Regions from separate parts of the Homo sapiens genome. Here all the other regions are linked to region 1. The links are contacts of gene promoters, found by promoter capture Hi-C in blood cells and fetal thymus (Javierre and others, 2016). All regions are on one chromosome and are shown on one strand. The core of a region is centred on a gene start or on the middle of the fragment in contact, and the rest is flanking DNA. Distances in the headings are between cores, read along the strand shown.

Region 1 (3,869 bases), core at 411-2,910:
CATTTGTTTCTCATCAGTGAGGCCCACAACCCAGGTATCCATTTTATAGTTGGATGAACAAAGAAAAGTAATGTGCACCAGGGGATGTAGCAAGTCAAGACCGAGTCAAGGCTAGAACCCAGGACTCCAGCCTCCTATCCACTTCAGAATGATTTTCAGTACATGACACCACTTCCCCATGAATCGGAGGTCTCCTATATGCTTGGCTTTAGCAGGCCCTGAGCAATGATATTTTCCACCCCCAAAGCCCTCTGTTGGTCTGTGCTCTTGAAGAGCACTTGGCTCTACATGGTACCTCCTAGATGACTGTTTTATGGATTTTCAATGAGGCTACTTAACCAGATGTCATTGCTGTCAAGTATTACTGTGGAAAATAGATCTGTCACCAACACTGCTTCATTAAACCATTTAATGAGAAAGGTGTTTAATGTTTTCCCCTGATCCTGACATGCAGCCATAACCTTTAGGATTAGTGAAATTTCCTGGGCAGTCAAATCAGACTGGTGATGTCTTGCTGCCCTGACTTACTGATGTTGGCAGGTGGACAGACCAGGGTTTTTCCTCCTTCCTTCCATATCTGTCTCAAGGCAGCATTTCTACAGCACTGCGTTGTGGACTGAGGTCTCAGGGCAGTGTGGTGGTCTCTCTGTCTCAGGAGTCCCTCCATTCAGTCTCTGGGCAGGAGCCGCATAATAAGATTCCACACACCCATACCACTCACGAAGGCCATGGGCCTTCCAGGGATCTCGGATCCCAGGCTGTTCTTCCTTGGGGGAGTGGCCTGGTTCTAAAACCAGGCCTTGAACTACATCTACAAAACATCTATTGTGGATTATTTATTATCCAAGGGGCAAGCCACTGTGCTAGACGGCTTGCAAGGCCTGCTATTGTAGAAGGTTATGAAACAAGTCAGTTTTAACGAACTTCTTTTTCTTCACCTGTACCTAGTTTCTTCCTCAGTCCTTAAAGCAGATGGAAGAGTTAAAGCCCACGTGGAGCAAATGACACTCTGTTTCTGATCTGATTCTCCCCGCCTCTTAGAGACGCTGTCTTGGTAGTGACCTGGCTGTGGGTTGTTCTGTGACTGTGTAGACCTACCTCAAAAGAGGGAAGAGGGGGGAAAAAGGGGCGAGGAGGAGATGCTTGGGTGGCCAGGCCATTGCTGGCACTCAGTCTATCTCAGTTCGTACACTGTGTTAGGTGTGACCCCAGCCCCTTGCAGGCACCCTGGGCTTCCTGCTCCAGTTCCCCTTGTTCGGCTCGGATGCACCGGGAGGCTGCTGCGCCCTCTCCGGACAGGTGCCCCGGGCCTCGCCTACACCTCACCTCCCCCTCCCACTGTACCCCCGGCCGGTGCGCGCTCTGACACTCACCGGCTGCGAGAGGCAGCGGCGACGGCGGCAGCAGCAGCAGCAACATCAGGACTACGGGCGGCAGCGGTCGCGGGTTCAGGGGGCGCACCATGGCGAGCTGTAGGCGCCGGGCTCCGCGCTCCCCTCGCTCCTCCCCTGGAGCTCTGAGAGCGGGGCTCCCTCGACCGGCACCTCCCGCCCCCGCCTCCCGCCCTCCAGCGCGACGCACACACTCTCCCACCAGGGTCCTGGGCGCCGCCCTCCAACTCCGAAGCGCGCGTCCACACCACGCGCCTCCAGCGCTGGTCCGAGGGACCGCGGGGGTGGGGGCGGGGGAGGGCCGGCGCCCCGGGAGCCGCCGGGCTTGGTGCGGAAGAGGTTGCTCTTTCCGAGGCGGCCCACCTGCTGTCTGACAAGTTCGACTAGCAAGACATTGTGGAAGCTGCCGCTGGAAACTCGCCATCTAGGAGAACCAAATATTTCTCCAAGAAAAGCACCCTTTCTCACTTTCTGGATCCCACTCACCCACACATCAAAGAACAGACACCACCACAAAAGAGATTTTGTAACAAAACTTGAACAAGCCAACACAAGGGCACTTGCATTTCTAGTATTTTTCTTAGAATTTGCACATCTATGATCTCGTTTTTTCCTCTCCTAAGTGTCTTCTAGGGTAAGATTGGGTGGTTATTAAGCTCAAGATGCTGCAAAGATGGGTCGCAGACAGGTGGAATGGCTTTGCTGGGGGAGCAGACCTGGGGCATTAGATTCCAAAATTCAGCCCCGATGGTGTCGTGAGGGAAGATGGAAGATTAAACTCTCCACTAAATAGCAGAGATTTCCTTGGACCAAAGCTCACTGAGGAAGGTGCCTGGAGAGACCATTTAGGAGCCCATCCTTTTCACATGATGAGACTTTCGGAGAGCAAGCTACTCTATCAGGATTAAACAACTAGGTAGAAACACATCTGTGCCCAGAACACAGGACGTCTACCCATAAGGATAAGGGTATTTATTGGGCCTGGGCCTGATTCCCACAAGATCCCAGGATAAAGCCAGAAGCAGAATGGCTTGGAAGAATGAGAACTAAGCAGCGCATAGAAAGAGAGAAGGAGAAGAGGGTGATGAAAGGAAGTGGAGGGTTTCATCCCCTAACCCTCTAACTTGACCCCCTCCTTACTTCCACAGCCAGCCTGGCAGAGGGCCAGCAGGGAGTACTGAGAATCGCAATATAAACCTCTGAGATTTATTGGCTGCTGCTTCTGAATATGGCCATCCTGCTGTGGCCTCTGGGGGGCATTTGCCGATGTAATCAGCCCAGAAAGAGAGTCATTCCAGCTGGGGGTGTAAATCACCCTTGGCAAAGCTAGGAGAGAGACATGTGGCCCTAGATAAGGAAGGAGACTGATGTGGCCTCTGTGCCCTTCCCTCCCTTCTCCTGCCCAGGGGGTGCTGGTTCCTGAGCTGTAATGCACTTTAAATGGAGTTTGTCCTTCGTTTTAATCTATATCTGCCCTGCCAGTTTTACAGAAGAGCTGTAAAAGTGAACATCTGGCTACTCAGCTTTTGTACAAGGCCTGTTTTCCCCCAGCTCCACCCTATCTCCATGTGCCTTTCCCAAGCCCTCCTCTCCAGAAAGGTGAGGGAACATGAAGCTGGGGGGCTACCATTAAAGGCCCCATGATGTCAGGCCCTCTACCCCATTGCCAGAGAGAAATATGCTCCAGGCACCTCATTTTCTCTCACACCTGCTATTACAGGCAGACAATCGTTTTTTGGGTTTTTTTTTTTGAAACTGACAATACTTAAGAAAGGAATTTATAAAGCAAAATGTAACAATTTCAGGCTCTTTGGGATGATAGGAAAGGGCTGAGACCCATGAACCAACAAAGATGTGAGGTGGTCAAGGGGTGTCTCCTCTGCCCTCCCCCTCCTCCAGCCCAAGCCAAATCATGTTATGGGCAGGAAGAGGGTTTGGGAAAGGAAGTTTGCTCAGGGTGCCTACTCTGATAGATACTCAGTGTCTATTCCAGGGCTGTCCCCACAGAATAGACCAAGAATGCAGTATCAAGCTGACGGGCTGGGAGCAATGACCAATCCCACCTGTAACAGGCCAGCCTTTTCATGAGAGAAAATAAAGTGTCTGGTGCATATTTCTGTCTGGGTACAGGGGTGGAGAGCCTCATATCATTGGGCCTTTAATGAGGATTGGAGAAGCTCTGCAAATAAATATGACTCCAAGACTAATATTGACAGCCCTCCAGCACACCCTCTCCACCAACCATGTCCTCTGTGACTGCCAACACCTGCTAGATAAGCAGCATTGCCCCTTGTGGACAATGACAAATGAGCCAGTCCTTTCTACAGAGATGATGTTACTCATCCATCATTCAATTCAATAATGTGTTTTGAGAATGATTATGAGCCCAGCTTTATGCTAGGTGCAAAATGATTAAGACACAAATCCTGCTCGGGGAGGGTGTTACAATCCACTGATTGCAACTCAAATGCCCAAAGA
Region 2 (3,869 bases), core at 941-3,440, 91 kb before region 1:
TCAAGAACTCATAATTCAAGGTCTCATAGTTACTAAGTCATGGAATTGGGACTCAAATTCAAGTGTTTGCCTCTGCTTTGCTTTAATATCACATACTAATTTTCATACCAGTCAATAAATTCGAACTCAGATCATCGGTGTGGCAAGCCACATTTGCAGGATAATGACGAGACAGGGAAGGGTGACAAAGTAGTAAAAATGTCCATGTGGGTTGGAATGATTGTGGAACCAAAGAGTAGCTGCACAGAGACATTTGAGGTGAAATGGGGTAGTGTTATCATAGTTCCTAGAAACTACTGTTTGCCCATTTGCTCAGAGGTAACTGCTGAAATTAATCTGTGGTTCTGGGCTGGGATTCTGCCACAGGTTCCATCTGAGGACAGTATGGAGAAGGTGAAAGTATACTTGAGGGTTAGGCCCTTGTTACCTTCAGAGTTGGAACGACAGGAAGATCAGGTAAGTGTCTGAGAAGGGAGGATTCAAGGTGAAATGATGCAGTACAAAAGATTCCCAGGAATGCCTTCTGTGACAACTGTATTTTCTCCCTTCTCAGGGTTGTGTCCGTATTGAGAATGTGGAGACCCTTGTTCTACAAGCACCCAAGGACTCTTTTGCCCTGAAGAGCAATGAACGGGGAATTGGCCAAGCCACACACAGGTTCACCTTTTCCCAGGTATGGAGGGTACTGGTTTGTGAACAAAAGACCAACATGTAAGGGCAACTTTATTCCCTCTTTAGAGGGAAAGCTTCTCTTCCTGACTGTGAGTTCCTTGTATATGCACACCTACAATTTTGAGGGCCCTAGTTATGTGTTAGTCAATGTGTCAAGTAACATATGTATATCAGTTCTGAAAAATTCTATTGTTATTATCATTATTTCCTTATTTTCCTCACAAGGATAGTGTGGCTCAATGAATGTAATATTGCTGAAGCCATGTAGCTAGTCACTAGTAGAGTTAGGACCTGAGTCTAGATCCATGTATCTCCAAAGCCCATACTTGTGGGCCATTATATTGCCCCATTGTGTGTGCAGCATCAGGCCTAGGGCATAGCATTCCTTAAGTGTTTGTTGATTTGGTGGAAAGATGGACTAGCAGAGAGTGCTTGAGTCCTCAGTGTTTAGGGAACAGCCAGCAGCATTGCAGGAAGAAGCTGCTTGAGTGGTCTCCAGAGCCAACCACTCAGGAAGGAATATATCTGCTGGCTCTGCACAGGAGGCAAGTGGGAGATGAAGGAGAGGCCTCTAAAAAACTGGGTCTCTCTCTAGATCTTTGGGCCAGAAGTGGGACAGGCATCCTTCTTCAACCTAACTGTGAAGGAGATGGTAAAGGATGTACTCAAAGGGCAGAACTGGCTCATCTATACATATGGAGTCACTAACTCAGGGAAAACCCACACGATTCAAGGTGAGTAGTAAGCCTTCACGGGATTCCTGATTGGCTGGTAATGGTGTTGTTTTTACCTTTTGAGACTCTGAGTTAGGGGGAGAAGGGCACTTGCCTCAGCTGTCCATCTTTCATATGCCTCCAGGTACCATCAAGGATGGAGGGATTCTCCCCCGGTCCCTGGCGCTGATCTTCAATAGCCTCCAAGGCCAACTTCATCCAACACCTGATCTGAAGCCCTTGCTCTCCAATGAGGTAATCTGGCTAGACAGCAAGCAGATCCGACAGGAGGAAATGAAGAAGCTGTCCCTGCTAAATGGAGGCCTCCAAGAGGTAAAGCATTGGTATCCATGGCAGTGGGGGTAGGGGGTACAAATCTCGGGGAAGTTTTGTGCTTACCTTCTCCCTGTGCCCCTCCAGGAGGAGCTGTCCACTTCCTTGAAGAGGAGTGTCTACATCGAAAGTCGGATAGGTACCAGCACCAGCTTCGACAGTGGCATTGCTGGGCTCTCTTCTATCAGTCAGTGTACCAGCAGTAGCCAGCTGGATGGTATGTACCGTGACTGGGCTCTGCCAAAAAATAGTAGGAACTCACTCCCTGTTCCTAATAGCTGCCAGGAGTACAGACCAGAGGTTGCAATCTAAGGTCTGCCTTCCAAGGCCCCTGCAGGCCAAAAGAGAGGTGAACTGCTCTAGGTTGATGCCCTATACATTGGCTTCTTCTCCAGAAACAAGTCATCGATGGGCACAGCCAGACACTGCCCCACTACCTGTCCCGGCAAACATTCGCTTCTCCATCTGGATCTCATTCTTTGAGATCTACAACGAACTGCTTTATGACCTATTAGAACCGCCTAGCCAACAGCGCAAGAGGCAGACTTTGCGGCTATGCGAGGATCAAAATGGCAATCCCTATGTGAAAGGTAAAGGAACATGGGGAAAGCTGGCATGAACCCTGGAGGGCAACTGGGGAGAGACTGGCAAAAGAGTTGGATGTTCCCATCTTACACCCCTCTCCTTTGGCCCCAGATCTCAACTGGATTCATGTGCAAGATGCTGAGGAGGCCTGGAAGCTCCTAAAAGTGGGTCGTAAGAACCAGAGCTTTGCCAGCACCCACCTCAACCAGAACTCCAGCCGCAGGTGAGTAGATTGTAAGAATAAACTCTTCACTGTGTTCCAGGAAACATTAGTCCTCTGCCTGGTCATGGAAAATGTGCAATGACTTTTTGTTTTTCTTAACTTCCAGTCACAGCATCTTCTCAATCAGGATCCTACACCTTCAGGGGGAAGGAGATATAGTCCCCAAGATCAGCGAGTAAGTTTATCCATTTAGAAATTTGGGCTTCTTGGCCATAAATGATAGTTGGGAAAGCATGGAGGAGGTCCTCAGGGGAACTATGTGTTCTCCTTCTTTGGGTACAGAGATTCTTAGTGGGCCGTCCCCTCTCCAGAATTATACAAAGGGCCAGAAGGCTCATAACATGTGAGGCCCTTATGTCAGATCCTGTGCATCATTCTAGGCTGTCACTCTGTGATCTGGCTGGCTCAGAGCGCTGCAAAGATCAGAAGAGTGGTGAACGGTTGAAGGAAGCAGGAAACATTAACACCTCTCTACACACCCTGGGCCGCTGTATTGCTGCCCTTCGTCAAAACCAGCAGAACCGGTGAGCTTTTGACTATAATTCCTGGGCTCTGCAATTTGCTAAGAGACTTCCTGGACACCACTGGGGATGGTGCTAGGATACCCAAAGGGCTGGTGTTCTGCTCACAGCTCTATTATCTCTGATTCTCTGCCAGGTCAAAGCAGAACCTGGTTCCCTTCCGTGACAGCAAGTTGACTCGAGTGTTCCAAGGTTTCTTCACAGGCCGAGGCCGTTCCTGCATGATTGTCAATGTGAATCCCTGTGCATCTACCTATGATGAAACTCTTCATGTGGCCAAGTTCTCAGCCATTGCTAGCCAGGTGAGAAGCTAGAGGTGTGATGGGTGTGCGCACTTGGAACTGGTAACTCTAAGAAAGCTCCTAGGGACTACTTATGGAGTCAAGTAAGATATTTTTTTTCCCTCTAGCTTGTGCATGCCCCACCTATGCAACTGGGATTCCCATCCCTGCACTCGTTCATCAAGGAACATAGTCTTCAGGTATCCCCCAGCTTAGAGAAAGGGGCTAAGGCAGACACAGGCCTTGATGATGATATTGAAAATGAAGCTGACATCTCCATGTATGGCAAAGAGGTGAGAATACAAGAAAGCTTTAGTGTAGCAGCTTAGTAGCTACACATTTTTCCATGGTGCCTTCCAGGTGGGCTTGTGCCTTCTGAGGGCATGAGCATCTGATGACCTCTGACATGTGTGTCTCTCCTAGGAGCTCCTACAAGTTGTGGAAGCCATGAAGACACTGCTTTTGAAGGAACGACAGGAAAAGCTACAGCTGGAGATGCATCTCCGAGATGAAATTTGCAATGAGATGGTAGAACAGATGC
Region 3 (3,869 bases), core at 395-2,894, 67 kb before region 1:
TAATATTAATTCACAGGCATGAAGAACCTTATATAACCTAAAGTAAATAAATAATCAGGTTGTTACTTATCCTGTTAGTCATTCCTAAGAATATTTTCTTCTCTACCATCCTTTTTAACTTTATTTATGATATCTTTTTTTTATTATTGCTATGTATAAAGTACATTCATTCAGTGGCCCACTGCTAAGCTATTTAAAAGATTTAACTTTTCCATTGGTTCTAAATATGGATGTTTCACTAAAGGCAGAATGACATTTTAAAATGGCCCTCACCAGATATCTGGAATACATATACAGAAAATAGGCTTTCTTGCTATTGCAGCCATGCAGGAAATGTGCTGCCCGATCATACTCTTTAACGTCAAAGTAGGCCTTGGCCAGGGTATAGGCATCCATATCCTGGGCATCTTCCTAAAAAAGAAACAAGCTTATGTAAGTGGTTGGGAATAGGACAACAAAACTTCAAATCTAAAAAGTATATTCGTTAATTTCAAGATGTAAAAGAAAAAGGATTGTTTTCTTCCTCCTAAAAACCTAGAATATGTAGATGCATATATATATAATTTTATATATTTATTTTATTACCAAGTAAGCCCATAGAACTCTTTTTTTTTTTTTTTTTTTGAGACAGAGCCTCACTCTGTCACCCAGGCTGGAGTGCAGTGGCGCAATCTCAGCTCACTGCAACCTCTGCCTCCCAGGTTCAAGCGATTATTGTGCCTCAGCTGCCAGAGTAGCTGGGATTACAGGTGTGCGCCACCACTTCCAGCTAATTTTTGTATTTTTAGTAGTGATGGGGTTTCGCCATGTTGGCCAGGCTGGTCTCAAACTCAGGGCCTCAAGTGATCTGCCTGCCTCGGCTTCCCAAAGTGCTGGAATTACAGGTATGAGCGACCGCACCCGGCCAAGTTTTTCTTTCTAATTTTTTCAAAATAAAAAAATGGAGAAAAAAGAAAACTTTAAAAAACTAAACGAACACTCATAAATGTGTATTGTTTCTATAAATGTAGTAGAAAGTTGAATAGGCTTTAGTGTTAAGGACCTAGATTCAAATTCTGACTTTTTGATTTCCTGGTTTCAGGACATTGGTAGGGAGGTTACTTAGCTTCTCTTAGCATCCATTTCTTCATCTGTAAAATGAAGCCAATAATACTGACCTTACAGATTTGACTTGAGGAAAATGTGAGTCACATAAAATATCCAGCATTAATACTGGCATTCTATTCCTTCTCCTGTCTTTTACAGTCCTACATAAATGCAATGTACGTGCAATTACTTATATTTTTTGTACTTCAATAAAGTTTTGTCATAATTTAGTATTGCTGAAGGCACAGAACACAGCTGTAATTCTCTATGTTAAAAAAAAATTAGATAATGTCACATTTAAGTTAAAAACATACAATCCTTGGCTGAGCGCAGTGGCTGTAATCCCAGCACTGTGGGAGACCAGGGCAAGAGGATGGCTTGAACTCAGGAGTTCAGGACCGGCCTGGGCAACGTGGCAAGACCCTGCCTCTACTAAAAATACAAAAAAATAGTTGGGCATGGTACTATGTGCCGGGGGTCCCAGCTACTCGGGAGGCTGAGCCTTGCTGCAGTGAGCCAAGATCGCGCCACATCACTTCAATCTGGTGACGTAGCAAGACTCTGTCTCAAAAAAAAAACAAAAAACAAAAATTCAATCCCCCAAATTCTTTTTTTTTTTTGAGACAGAGCCTCGCTCTGTCGCCTAGGATGGAATGCAGTGGTGTGATATTGGCTGACTGTAACCTCCACCTTCTAGGTTCAAGCAATTCTCCTGCCTCGGCCTCCCTAGCAGCTGGGATTACAGGTGCCCGCCACCATGCCTGGCTAATTTTTGTATTTTAGTAGAGACGGAGTTTCACCAGGCTGGTCTTGAACTCCTGACCTCAAGCGATCCACCCGCCTTGAACTCACAGCAGAGTGCTGGGATTACAGGCACGAGCCACCACCGGCCCAATCCTCCAAATTCTAAGGATGAGTTAATTAAAATTTGAATAACTGTATTTTCCTCATCTTTCTTGCCCCAAATATCACCAGAACAAAACTGGAACCAAAACATATTCAGTGCTTTCTTCATTAGATCAACATGTCCTAAATACGACCATTTGATTTAGGATTCTGGAGGCCCTTCTCATATCAACTCACCACTTGTTTATTTCTTTCCCCCTAACTCTTTCACCTGCATTATGCCTTTTTGAGTAAGAAATACTTGTTATTGCTGAATGGGACAAAAAAATCAAGAAAGGCATCATCAGGAAAACAAAATGGATTATAATGAAAAGCATTCAGATTATACAAGACTATGTATACATGCATACTATAGGCCCAGCATAAAATATATTCGTAACAGTCGATATATCCTTATAATTCAGAAAGTTTTACTATTTGGATTATATAATCTTAAATTTTTCTGTTTCATTCTTGCTTATGGGAAGAATCTGGAATGTTCTACTGAAAATTACATGTAATTTAGAGGCATTTAGCATTTGGCTGAGTTTTGTTTCGTTTTGAGACAGGATCTCACTCTGTCTCCTGGGCTGCAGTGTAGTGGCGCAATCTCAAATCACTCCAACCTCAGCCTCCTGGGCTCAAGTGATCCTCCTCCCACCTCAGCCTCTGAAGTCACTGGGTCCACAGGTGCGTGCCACCGCACCACCATGTATTTCTAGTACAGATATAGTTTCACTATGTTGCTTAGGCTGGTCTGGAACTCCCGGCCTCAAGCAGTCCTCCCAAAGTGCTGGGATTACAGGCATGGGCCACCATGCTCAGCCAGGTTGAGTTTTTAAACCAAGAAGCCACAATTGGTCCTAGTCACATCTTATATTCAGAAAAGCTAAGCTTCAGGGCCAGGTGTGGTGGCTCATGCCTGTAATCCCAGCACTTTGGGAGGCTAAGACAGGTGGATCACCTGAGGTCAAGAGTTCAAGACCAGCCTAGCCAACATGGTGAAACCCCATCTCTACTAAAAATACAAAAAATTAGCCAGGTGTGGTGGTGAGCACCTGTAATCCCAGCTACTTGGGAGGCTGAGGAAGGAGAATCACTTGAACCTGGGAGGTGGAGGTTGCAGTAAGTGGAGATCATGCCATTGCACTCCAGCCTGGGCAACAGAGTGAGACTCAAAAAAAAAAAAAGAAAAGAAAAGAAAAGAAAAGCTTTAAGTCCAAGACAAAGGATAACGAGTTTAAGGCCTTATATGACATGCTTCTTTGGTAATGTTTATAAAACACTGAGAGTAAGCAAGCCGGGTGTGGTGGCTCACACCTGTAATCCTAGCACTTTGGGAGGCTGAGGTGGGTGGATCACCTAAGGTCAGCAGTTTGAGGCCAGCCTGGCCAACATGGTGAAACCTCGTCTCTGTTAAAAATACAAAAATTAGCCAGGCGTGGTGGCACATTCGGTAATCCCGGCTATTCGGGAGGCTGAGGCAGGAGAATCACTGAAACCCAGGAGCCAGAGGTTGCAGTGAGCCGATATTGGGCCATTGCACCCTAGCCTGGGTAATACAGCAAAACTCCGTCTCAAAAAAAAAAAAAAATTGAGAGTAAGCTATAACAAACATCTACTACGTAGATTGAGCAAGCATAATACTCTTGCATTTTAATAACTTTAAATATCACAGTTATGGCTGAGAGCAGTGAATCATGCATGTAATCCCAGCACAGCACTTTGGGAGGCTGAGAGGGGTGGATCACTTGAGGTCAGGAGTTCGAGACCAGCCTGGCCAACATGGTGAAACCTCCTCTCTACTAAAAATACAAAAAAATTAGCCAGGTGTTGTGGCATGCACCTGTAATCCCAGCTACTCAGGAGGCTGGGACAGGAGAATTGCTTGAACCTGG

Evidence for each region. The method cuts DNA at HindIII sites, captures the fragments that hold promoters and counts their contacts. A CHiCAGO score of 5 or more calls a contact.
Region 2: a fragment that was not itself captured here is called in contact with the fragment with the promoter of GFRA3 in region 1 in 2 of 17 cell types (megakaryocytes and erythroblasts); the score reaches 7.4 in megakaryocytes.
Region 3: a fragment that was not itself captured here is called in contact with the fragment with the promoter of GFRA3 in region 1 in 1 of 17 cell types (megakaryocytes); the score reaches 5.5 in megakaryocytes.

Annotation. Positions count from the first base shown.
Region 1 is chr5:138,272,961-138,276,829 of GRCh38, forward strand. GFRA3 (GDNF family receptor alpha 3) reads right to left here and starts at 1,661. Exons shown (of 8, transcript NM_001496.4): 1 at 1,374-1,661. The coding sequence starts at 1,464. RefSeq lists silencers at 1,384-1,573, 1,664-1,753. The HindIII fragment of the contact is 6,195 bases long and covers 1-3,869 here.
Region 2 is chr5:138,181,056-138,184,924 of GRCh38, forward strand. KIF20A (kinesin family member 20A) reads left to right here. Exons shown (of 19, transcript NM_005733.3): 3 at 367-456; 4 at 554-673; 5 at 1,268-1,406; 6 at 1,531-1,718; 7 at 1,806-1,935; 8 at 2,114-2,308; 9 at 2,415-2,526; 10 at 2,633-2,701; 11 at 2,907-3,050; 12 at 3,184-3,349; 13 at 3,457-3,621; 14 at 3,752-3,869. Among named protein-coding and RNA genes, the nearest start is that of KIF20A, 3.9 kb to the left of the region's middle. The HindIII fragment of the contact is 2,892 bases long and covers 745-3,636 here.
Region 3 is chr5:138,206,274-138,210,142 of GRCh38, forward strand. CDC23 (cell division cycle 23) reads right to left here. Exons shown (of 16, transcript NM_004661.4): 3 at 274-411. Among named protein-coding and RNA genes, the nearest start is that of CDC23, 5.1 kb to the right of the region's middle. The HindIII fragment of the contact is 2,438 bases long and covers 426-2,863 here.